Regions from separate parts of the Homo sapiens genome. Here region 1 is linked to region 2. Evidence: promoter capture Hi-C in 16 types of primary human blood cells and fetal thymus (Javierre and others, 2016). All regions are on one chromosome and are shown on one strand. Each heading gives the region's core, a stretch centred on a gene start or on the middle of the fragment in contact. The rest is flanking DNA. Distances are from core to core; before and after follow the strand shown. Region 1 holds the start of PPP1R9A (protein phosphatase 1 regulatory subunit 9A). Region 2 holds the start of CASD1 (CAS1 domain sialic acid O acetyltransferase 1).

Evidence for each region. Contacts are between HindIII fragments. The CHiCAGO score rates a contact against its expected background, and 5 or more counts as called.
Region 1: a contact is called between the fragment with the promoter of PPP1R9A here and the fragment with the promoter of CASD1 in region 2, in 1 of 17 cell types (endothelial precursors). The highest score is 5.9, in endothelial precursors.

What each region holds. Positions count from the first base shown.
Region 1 is chr7:94,905,135-94,910,252 of GRCh38, forward strand. PPP1R9A (protein phosphatase 1 regulatory subunit 9A) reads left to right here and starts at 2,460. Exons shown (of 20, transcript NM_001166160.2): 1 at 2,460-2,568; 2 at 4,764-5,118. The coding sequence starts at 4,980. RefSeq lists an enhancer at 2,517-3,277. The HindIII fragment of the contact is 9,522 bases long and covers 1-5,118 here.
Region 2 is chr7:94,506,302-94,511,122 of GRCh38, forward strand. CASD1 (CAS1 domain sialic acid O acetyltransferase 1) reads left to right here and starts at 3,508. Exons shown (of 18, transcript NM_022900.5): 1 at 3,508-3,916. The coding sequence starts at 3,784. RefSeq lists enhancers at 2,793-3,781, 3,782-4,768 and silencers at 3,302-3,521, 3,562-3,711, 3,812-4,171. The HindIII fragment of the contact is 8,005 bases long and covers 1-4,821 here.

The DNA of each region.
Region 1 (5,118 bases), core at 1,210-3,709, 400 kb after region 2:
GGGCAGTCTTTAGTACCAGCTTAGCCAGTTTTCCCTAGTCTTAAAATTTGATTCAGGCTTAGTTTGGGCTTAATTTCACAGCTGCACCCAATGATTCACATACACACATGAATAACTTAATTCTTTGAATAGTTCTTAGAATGTCCATCACGAAAACTTAAAAATACATTGAGAAAACCCCTAAAACAATATAGAATATACTTTGTACTTTTTGTTTATCCTCTAACCTTGTGACCACATGGTTAATACTAATCATGGTATTATTGGTTGCAAAGGAAATGAAAATAACAGCCCACAATATTCTATATAATTTATGAAAGGTTAAGGTATCATATATGAAAACTGAGAACTCCCCCACCCCAAACACATTTTGGATTTTTTGCATGTCAGTAATGAAGTTCACTTTTCACCACCTTTCCAGTTGGAACATATAAAATGTATGACCTCTAATGCCTAATACATTAATGATCTATTGAACTAAGTTAACCCTTATAAAGTTCATAGAAGTGAAAATGTGGTCTAGAACAACACTGTTTGATAGAACTTTCTGTGATGGAAATGTTGCGTATCTACACTGTGCAACAGAGTGGCCACTAGGCACATGTAGCCATCAAGCCTTTCAAATGCGGCTTGTGTGACTAAGGAACTGAATTTTAAATTGTATTTAATTTTAATTAAAGTTAAATAGCCGCATGTATTGGATTAGCAGTCTAATAGACCCTTCAAACATTCAAGTAAGTGTTGGAAATGGAAGGTCCATTATAGGAAATCTAGGAATCTTAAATTCTCACCATCGGGTTTAAAACTCTATCATTCCTTCAGTATGAACTTTTCCAGAAGTTTCAGATTTTCAAAAGATAAAACTCAAACCAACCAAATCCTTTAGGGTGCTTTTCTGTATGAATCATCTTTCTGCAAAGAGGTGTAAGACTGTCTTTATTGCCAACTCTGCCCCCTCTTCTACAGACAGAACTCAGTGATTAGATTCTGCATTTATTTAGGTTATTCGCCTAAAAAACCTGGTTTCCATACTGCAAATAAATGACAGGAACTTTTCCACTAGATTATCCCAGACAGCAGAAATGTTCTTTCCAAAAGTGGAGCCTGGAACCACAGCCCCCTCACATTGCCTGTTACATCTGTTTATGCTTATAGAAGTGACATCCACTTCGTAGACAGAGAATGCCAATTTCTTGGGAAAGGACCCAGAATTTGGTGATGCTTAAAGGAAAAAAAAGCCCTTGCTGCTTAAAATTAAAAAATACATAGAACTGAGTATTGAGTAGTTACAAAATCCTTCTGAAATGAAAAGATTTTGCTCCCAGAGTATATAGAATTTGTGTACGGACTTGCCTGGGTTCATATTCAGCCATAATCATTTACTATTAATAGCCAATAAAGAAGCGGGTAAGTTACAAAACCTAAACCTTAGTTTTTCCATCAGTGAAATGGGGCTAAAAATAGTTATGTTGGGAAAACTTGTGAAAGACTTTGAAATGAGCAAAAGATTACTGTTTGTCCTTTCAATGGAATGCTGGATGTTATCTACAGGACTCCGGAGTGTTGTGAAATTTACAGTCGTCTGCACCTTACTTAGACTGACTTTCACTAGGCTATTTTACTACTCAGTAAGCTGTAGAAACGTTTGGTAATGTAAATGAGTTTTATCTACAGAATGCAAATTTGTTACTTTACAGATACAACTGGTTACCGCCCTGTAAAGCAGATAATAATAAACATTACATTTCAGTGCTCTATAGAATAGTAAGCAGATTTGCCTCTTCTTGCCTCTATGTCTACTCTTCACAGTCTCACGTGAATGGGTTGCAGTATCTTGCTGGGGTTCCCTTCCTAATTAAAAGAGTTATAAAAATTTTGACCAATGTTCATTTTATATTTCTACCATTGTCATGTTTTTACCTTCTTGAAAAATTATTTTTTAAGAGTTCCTGCTCCCTAGGCTTTTTGGAAGGATTGGTTTAAACATCTGTATTGACAGTCATGATCAGTTTTATATCTTGCAGGAAGGTGGTAACACTTCCGGTACTTGGGGGTGTAAGAGGTTGTACTGAGCCTTTAGAAAAGGGCGGGGTTCGGGGGGGAGTGAGCTGAAAAACTCTCCCTAGACAGGAAAGGTAGAAGACCTCCTCATCCCTTTCTCTTTGGCAGTGAGATCTTAAGGTCAAGGTGAGTAGTAGGCCAGGCGCAGTGGCTTAGGTGAAGGCCACACCAGACTTGGGCCTACGTCTTGGCCTTCCAGGTCAGCAGAGTGGCCTGGGACTTGGATGCCTTGGGGTCACGGAGTTAACTGCAGACTCAGACTAAGTGGGGCCCCAGCAGCGGTCAGCCCCAGAACCAAGTTCCGGAGCCAACACCCGAACAGGAAGGGGCCTTGCCCCAGGCCGGAGAGGCCCCTCGCCCACGGCCGAGGGGGTGGGGCGGCCTCGCCTCGGGCCGGTGCTTTTCGCCCTTCCTTGGCCGCCAGAGGCTCCCTCTCTCTCCCTCTCCCGGGATTTTGCTGCCGGGCTCCCTCTCTCTGCGGCCCTAGAGTTAATCCCATCAGCCGAGGTGAGGCACCTGTTACCCCGGCCTTCCTCACCCCCGCGGCCTCTCCTCCATTACACCGCGGCCGCCGAAACGGCCCGGCGTGGCGACCGCACGTGGGCCAAACCCCTTCCCCGGCCGGCACCCCTGGCCCCAGGCCGGCCCGAGCGTGCGGGCGCGTCGCTGCTCGGGCCGCCGCCCGCCCGCAATGGCGTTGGGGAGCGCAGCGCGCCTCCCGGGGCCGCCCGCCGCGGGCAGGGAGCGCCTGGGGGCCGACGCGCGAGTGGAAGCGGCCGCCGCAGCCGCCCTACGCGCTGCGCCGTGAGGAGCGGGTTGCGGTGTACCCAGCGGGCCGGCGCCGAGCCGAGCCGCCGCGTCCACCGTGGGGCGGGGGGCGCCTGCGAGGAGGGGGTGGGAGCCGCGGCGGCCCGACCCTCCCCGCCCGCGGCGCTCCCGCTCGGGTAAGGGGGAGGCTGAGCGCGGGGCGAGGAGTTGGGGAGGGTGGAGAGGAGGAAAAAATCGGCTTGTACAAAGGCTGAGTTGCAGGCTGGGGGTGGGGGTGGGTTGTGGTGGAGGAGCAATAGGTTGAAGATCGGAGGCATTATCAGTGGGATCTATTGTTTCCTGGCACATTGGGAGGAAAAACAAAGGGATTTATTTTCATTACCCTGTAATTTTTTTTCTTTTCTATTTTTTTAAATGTGGCCAGGGAGCTCGTCTCTCTCCGTGTCACAGTGGGATCCGCCTGGCAGCCGCCGGGAGCTGCAGCCAATGTGTTAGGACTTCAGGTGCTTCTTGGCACAAAGCTAGACTGCGACCTCCTACCATAGCGCTTGGCGTCACCTGCTCTCCCGGTCCTGCCCCAGGGCCGAGGGATTGCGTCCCGAACCGGGCTTGGGAATCGGCTGCCTCTCAAGTTGGTGTTATTTATGTTTGTCTTTTGTGAGGGCAGGTTTTGAATCCCCCGGCGGCCCCATCTCCCCCGCCCCCGCCTCCTTGGGTTGGAATTGGCGGGGGAGGGAATGGGGGGTGTGTGTAGGGGAGAGGGGAGGGTGTTTGTGGCTTTAAAAAGAATGGTCAGGGTAAAAGGAGATTGTCGATGCTTTACAAAAAAAGAAAAAAACAGGCACCACACTCCAAAGCCTTTCTTGTTTGTCTGCATGGGCCATGCATGCGTGCTGGGCCAGGAGCCGAGTTTGGAGACGGTTTAAGTGAAAGTGTGTGCCTCCTCAGCTGATTGTGCGTGAGGGTGATGTGGCTCGGTCTAATATCAAAACAAAACAAAAATAAAATGAAAAATCTTTAGAACTGCCTGCATTGTCTGCTCCTCAGCATATCTTGAAGTATTTGATTGCTGGCTTATTGATATAAAATCCTGCTGTGGGCTTAAAGAGACCAGCAAGCATGCATTGCGTTGCGTGTTGAACTGTAGTAAGTTAGAGGCAAGAAAGAATAAACAAATCAGGGCTGTGAAAAGGGGTGTCACAGTATATTTGCTTTCTGATTGTCACATTCTTACGCATTTATTCCCTTGGTAGTCTGCATCCCACTCCATAATTAATAATAACCACTGTTAGGAAACTTCCAAATACTTGTTATAACTGAACTTAGTGAAACTTATTGCTATTCAGGAACTTTTTTTCTCCTTGTTTTGATCTGAAATTGCATTAGTATTGCTTTGGGGATGCTGTAGATGAGAACATTGGACCAAAAAAAGTAAAATATGCCGCTGTAGGCATGTTTTGGAGTTTGTAAACATAGATTCCAAACTTAATTGTACTTAGAAAGAATAAGTTCTACCTAATTGTGGAGAATCCTAAATGAAGTTGATTTTCTGGACAGTTTGATGATTTCTTAAAGATCGATGAACTGCTGGTTTCTTTTTAAAGGGCATTCACAAAAGCGACCAAAACTTGGGCTAAAGTATTGCTTTCAAATATACTTATGTGTAGCTTGTATTTGTGAGTGTGTGTATGTGTTTGTGTGTGTGTGAGATTTTGATAGGTATCTCCAAATTGTGTTTGGAACTTTTTTTTTTTTTTTTTTACCAAAGACCAATCAGAATGATAACTTTTTGACTTTTAACTTCCCATTTCAATGAGTAATCTCTTCTGTTTGCCACGTGGCTAAGCCATTTGGAAAAAAAAATGTATGTTATTTGACTAGACATAAATTCAAATAAGTAAATGAATTCAGAAATTCATTCTTTTCTATTGCAGATGAACCTCTAGTCTTGCTTTGAAAAAATCATTCTGTGTAACTCTTGACTGTGACTAAGTTCCTAATACACCTGTTGGGACGATCACTGACACCGTATACCATTTGAGAGGTACTTTTCTTGACCCAATACTGGTGATTAGAGAAGAGAGGTATCTTGGTTTTTGGTTTTTTTCTTTGATCATTATGAACATTGGCTTTTCACCCCTGAAGTGAAAATGTTGAAAACTGAGTCTTCAGGTGAACGAACCACTCTCAGAAGTGCCTCTCCTCACAGGAATGCATATCGAACTGAGTTTCAGGCACTGAAAAGTACCTTTGACAAACCCAAGTCAGATGGGGAACAAAAAACAAAAG
Region 2 (4,821 bases), core at 2,258-4,757:
GTGTGGTGCATTAAGGAAGATAGGATGAATTTGGCAAACAATGAAGAGAGATAAATTAAAGGTAGAAATAAGGAAGGGGAACTTAGGAGACCAGATTCTCAATGAAATGATATTGGTATAATCATACACACAGGTGAGAGTGACAGTTTTGGGAAAGGGGAGGAGGAATTTTTCTTTGAATCAGAAGGGAAAAGATAAAGTGTAGCAGTTTGTTTTAGAGTAATACATAGGGCCGGCTTTGTGGCTCATGCCTGTAATCCCAGCACTTTGGGAGGCCGAGGCGTGTGGATCACCTAAGGTCAGGAGTTGGAGGCCAGCCTGGCCAGCACGGTAAAACCCCGTCTCTACTAAACATACAAAAATTAGCCAGGCGTGGTGGTGCACACCTGTAGTCCCAGCTACTCGGGAGACAGGCAGGAGAATCATTTGAACCTGGGAGGCAGAGGTTGCAGTGAGCCAAGATCACACCACTGCACTCTAGCTTGGGCGACAGAGTGAGACTCCATCTCAAAAAATAAAAATAAAAATAAAAATAATGCATAGGTTGAGAGAGTTTCTGTCAGATGGTTTCTGTCTCTCTCTTTTTAAAATATTATTAAGGTGTGAGGTAACATGCTGAGCATTAGTAAACATTCTGGATAGCTCAGGGGTCAGGAAATAAACGTGGAGCCACTAACTAGTTTTTAGCAGGAAATGACATTACGAGATTTTAATTTAAGAAAGTTCTGTCTGGTAAGAGGTATGGCAGAATGGCAGTAGGGTTGGATTTTCGAGTGACCTGAGAAAGACGAGTAAAAGGATAAGAAATGCAGGCAAGAAATCATCCCTTAACCAAGGTAACAGCAAGTGGATAGAGAGGGGGCAACACAGTTGAGAGTTATTTAGAAGAAAGCAAGGATGACTCAAACACTTGCTTGGACGGCTGGGTTAATGATGAAAACTTAGGCATAAAGGTTGAAAGTAGATAAAGGAGAAGGAAGGTGATGAGTTTGTTTAGGAAATGATATATATTAGGTACCTGAAGGATATCCTAGTAGGCAGATGGTTCTTACAGCATGAGGATAGATAAATATGGACTGACATATCAGGTGTGTGTGTGTGTGTGTGCGCGCGCGTGTGTATAAGGAAGGTGATCCCATGGCAGTGGTGGGACCACTAAATAATGACTAAGTGATCCTAAGGTCACTTAAAAACAGCAAGAAGTGGCTGAAAACAAAGTCTCCGCTCTGTTTTAGATGGATACCAAATAAGGAAGAATGGTCAACAATGTCAGGTGCCACAAAATGGTCCAGGAAGATAAGGAATATAAAGTGTCCCTTGGATTTAACAAGTAGTCATACCACACAGCCTTGGTGAAGAACAATGAAATGGCTGAAGAGAGAATGCTAATTGAGCCAGTGAAGGCAGAGAGTCAACACTGCTCTTTCTAGATGTTTGCCAGAGGAGGAAAGAGTTGATGAGGTAAACATGCAGGAACAGAGTCCATGGGTGTTTTTCATTAAAAAAAAATTTTTTTTGGAGGAAGGCAAACAGCAAGGTGATAGGGAGAATTGGAAGACACAGAAAAAGAATGATTTGCATGGGGATAACTGATGGAGGAATCAACACCCTCAAGAAAGGAGGATAAGAAAAGATTCAGAGCAGAGGTAGAGAGATTGGCCTTAAACTTGAGAGAAGAAAAAGGAGGTTCACAAGCTATTTACAGTATTTAAGAAAGCCTTCTGGAAATTGCAATTAATAGAATGTCAAGTTTCTTTACTTTTTGCAGGCATTAACTCAACCCTTTGGGTTAACACTGGTTATTGCATGCTGATCAGAAATTCTAATTTGCTGGTAATGACATCATAGAAATGTCTAGGATGTGATTGGCAGACCATATATTGTTGGCAGAGTTATCTGGTTTTTACAATACCCAATTCTTACAACATGTGATCAACCTCTGATCAGAATGACAGCCAAAATTAAAAGACTATTTGCAGGGAACAGTGCCTAAGTGTTTGTACACTTATTTAACTTTATTGCTTATTAGCATTACATCCATGACAGTGATGTATGTGATTTCATTTAAGTGACAAAATCTTTCAAGATATAAAGTCCATGGATGAAAACATAATAAAGAGTCCTTGGATGAAGAGAATGGGAATGAGTAGACAAGATCTCTACAGTCCCTTCATATCTAATATTCTATAATTTTAAGAGGGGCCTATAAGCACAAGTTCAGGAATGGCTAAATGGGAAAGTTGTAAAGAATACTTGACAACACCCCAACTAAACAATGACTCACTCTAAACAAGGCAAGGCAAGTAGAATGGCAAGCAATGTAAATAACCATTCCCATCTGGAAGGCAACAAGAAAAACCATTTAAAAAAGGTGGGGTGGGAGCGAGAGGAGAGTAGGGATAACAATGCTTTATTAAGGAAATGGAGTGCTGGCTTTATTGAGAATCACAAAACATTAACCAACGTTAGTAGCGGGGATGATTGTCATAAGCACATTAAGAAAAATTTTTTTTGGCTAGGCTTGGTGGCTCATGCCTGTAATCCCAGCACTTTGGGAGGCCGAGATGGGCAGATCATTTGAGGTCAGGAGTTCGAGACCAGCCTGACCAAAATGGTGAAACCCCCGTCTCTATTAAAATACAAAAATTAAACGGGTGTGGTGGCGGGCGCCTGCAATCTCTGCTACTCGGCAGGCTCAGGCAGGACAACCATTTGAACCCAGGAGGGGGAGGCTGCAGTGAGCGAAGATCACGCCACTGCACTAGAGCTTGGGCGACAGGGTGAGACTCCCTCTCAAAAAAAACGAATTTTTTTGGCACATCGACCTAGCCAAACTTGCGTAAATACAAGTGAGAGTCAGACTCTTTTCTCATCAACACCTACACTAAGTTAGGCTCCTTCTGTACCTTCCATTCGGAACTTTGGTGTACTTTCGCCCACCAGAACTGGGCAAACTGAGGACATTAAAAAAACGGTTTAAGAGAAACTGGCCAGAGCGGTGAGTTAAGTGTTAAGACTGGTTTCACTCCTGGGTTGGATGCCAGCAATCCATCGGCCAGCACCATCAACTGGATCCATCAATCCAATCTGGCCAGCACCCAGGGGCAGCCAGACTGACCAGCCAGGCCACGGATAGCCAGACAATAAACGACCTTAGGGTGTCCTTCGCATCCCGCTGGGCGGGTTCTGGCAGTAGAAGGCTGAGAAAGGGGAGTGTTGGGGAAGGAAGGAATGGGACGATGTGTACTTTTCTCCCGGAACTGTAGTTCTATTGCCCCAACCTGGGCTCAGGTAGCGGCCAGTAAACTAGGAGACAGCCCTAAGGCTCGCGTCCGGGCCAGGCGGGTACCCCTAGTACTCTCTCCCCACACCCCCATGGCTCTGCCGCAGCCGCCGCCGCCCGCCGGGGCGCGTGACCCGGTGACCCCGGAGCACTGGGCATCCGGACCCCCCTCGCAGGCGCAGCCGCTATTAAGGCAGGAGGCTAAAGAGGAGGAGGAAGGGGAGGAGACAGGCGTCCAGGGCGCCTGGGGAACCGGCACGGCGGAGCAGCGGCGGCGGGGCTGGGGGGAGGCCGCCGAGTCGGCCGCGGCCGAGGAGGGGCAGGCGGAGGTCGGGGGCGCCGCGGCCGCGGGGTCAGGTTCCCCGGCGGGAGGCGCAGGTGGCGGCCTGGGGAGCTGGCGGCCGCTCCTCGCCTGGCTGCAGCGGCGGCAGCCCCAGTGCTGCCCCTGTGCGGCGCCCCTTTCCCGCTCCGCCGCGCACTGTTGTCATGGAGGAACCAAGATGGCGGCTCTGGCCTACAACCTGGGCAAGCGGGAGATCAACCACTACTTCAGCGTGAGGAGCGCCAAGGTGCTGGCGCTGGTGGCCGTGCTGCTGCTCGCAGCGTGCCACCTCGCCTCCCGCCGCTACCGAGGTGAGCGGGCCCTCCCCTCTGCCCGGGCAGGCCGTGGGGGAGGCGGCGACGCGGCGGCTGGAGGCCGCCCCCATCGCCCAACACACGCCCACGCGGCCTTCCGCCGGCCCGGCCCGCGGGGGAGGCGGTTCCCCCAGGTGTCCCCAGCAGCGGCCGGCGCCCGAGGCCAACTGAGTGGACCCCAGTGGGGGCCACCAAAGGACAATGGCTGGTGGTTCTGGGCGCCCCGAGCCGCCCGCGCTGGGGTCGGGGGCGCCAACCCTGGACCTGGCCAAAAGTGCTGCTGAGGTCCGGCTCCTGAGCGGTCTGGGTTCGGGGAGACGCTCCAGATCAGGGGCTCGCGTGCAGGAAGTCGGACAGGCGGTCCTTGGGGGCAGCCCGGGGCGCATGAAGCCCAAGGCCGCCCTGCAAGGGGCACCGCTGCCAGCAGTGGGGTCGCAGGTCCTGCCTCTTAAGGGTCCGGCTCCTTAGCCTTTGTTTAATTTTGCCTCTGCCCTGTAACACCCAGTCTGGGCTGTTGGACAGCGGCAAGGGCCGCCCCCATTTTCCTTTGCCAAAAGGGCGACAGCTGGCAAAAGATGCCTGTGGCCAAATGGAAGAGGTGCCACCCAGCTTTTGTGATGCAGAAACGTTTAAAGGCTTCGGAGTGCACACTTTTTACAAAGTTAAGGCACCAGAGCAGATTTTTGGAAGGAAGTTGTGGGTTGACAGGCGTAAAGGTGGGCAGTTGAAAGCAAGTTGTAAGCACTTTGAAAGCAGGCCTTGGCCATGGGTTTTGAAATTGGTGTAAAGGGGAAAAGGAAATATGACCTGATTTGAGAATGAATTATCTTTCAGTAATCAAGGGATATTTACTTCTCCTTGCTGATTGATTGTTTTTTTTCCTTTGTAAAAATGTCACTGGG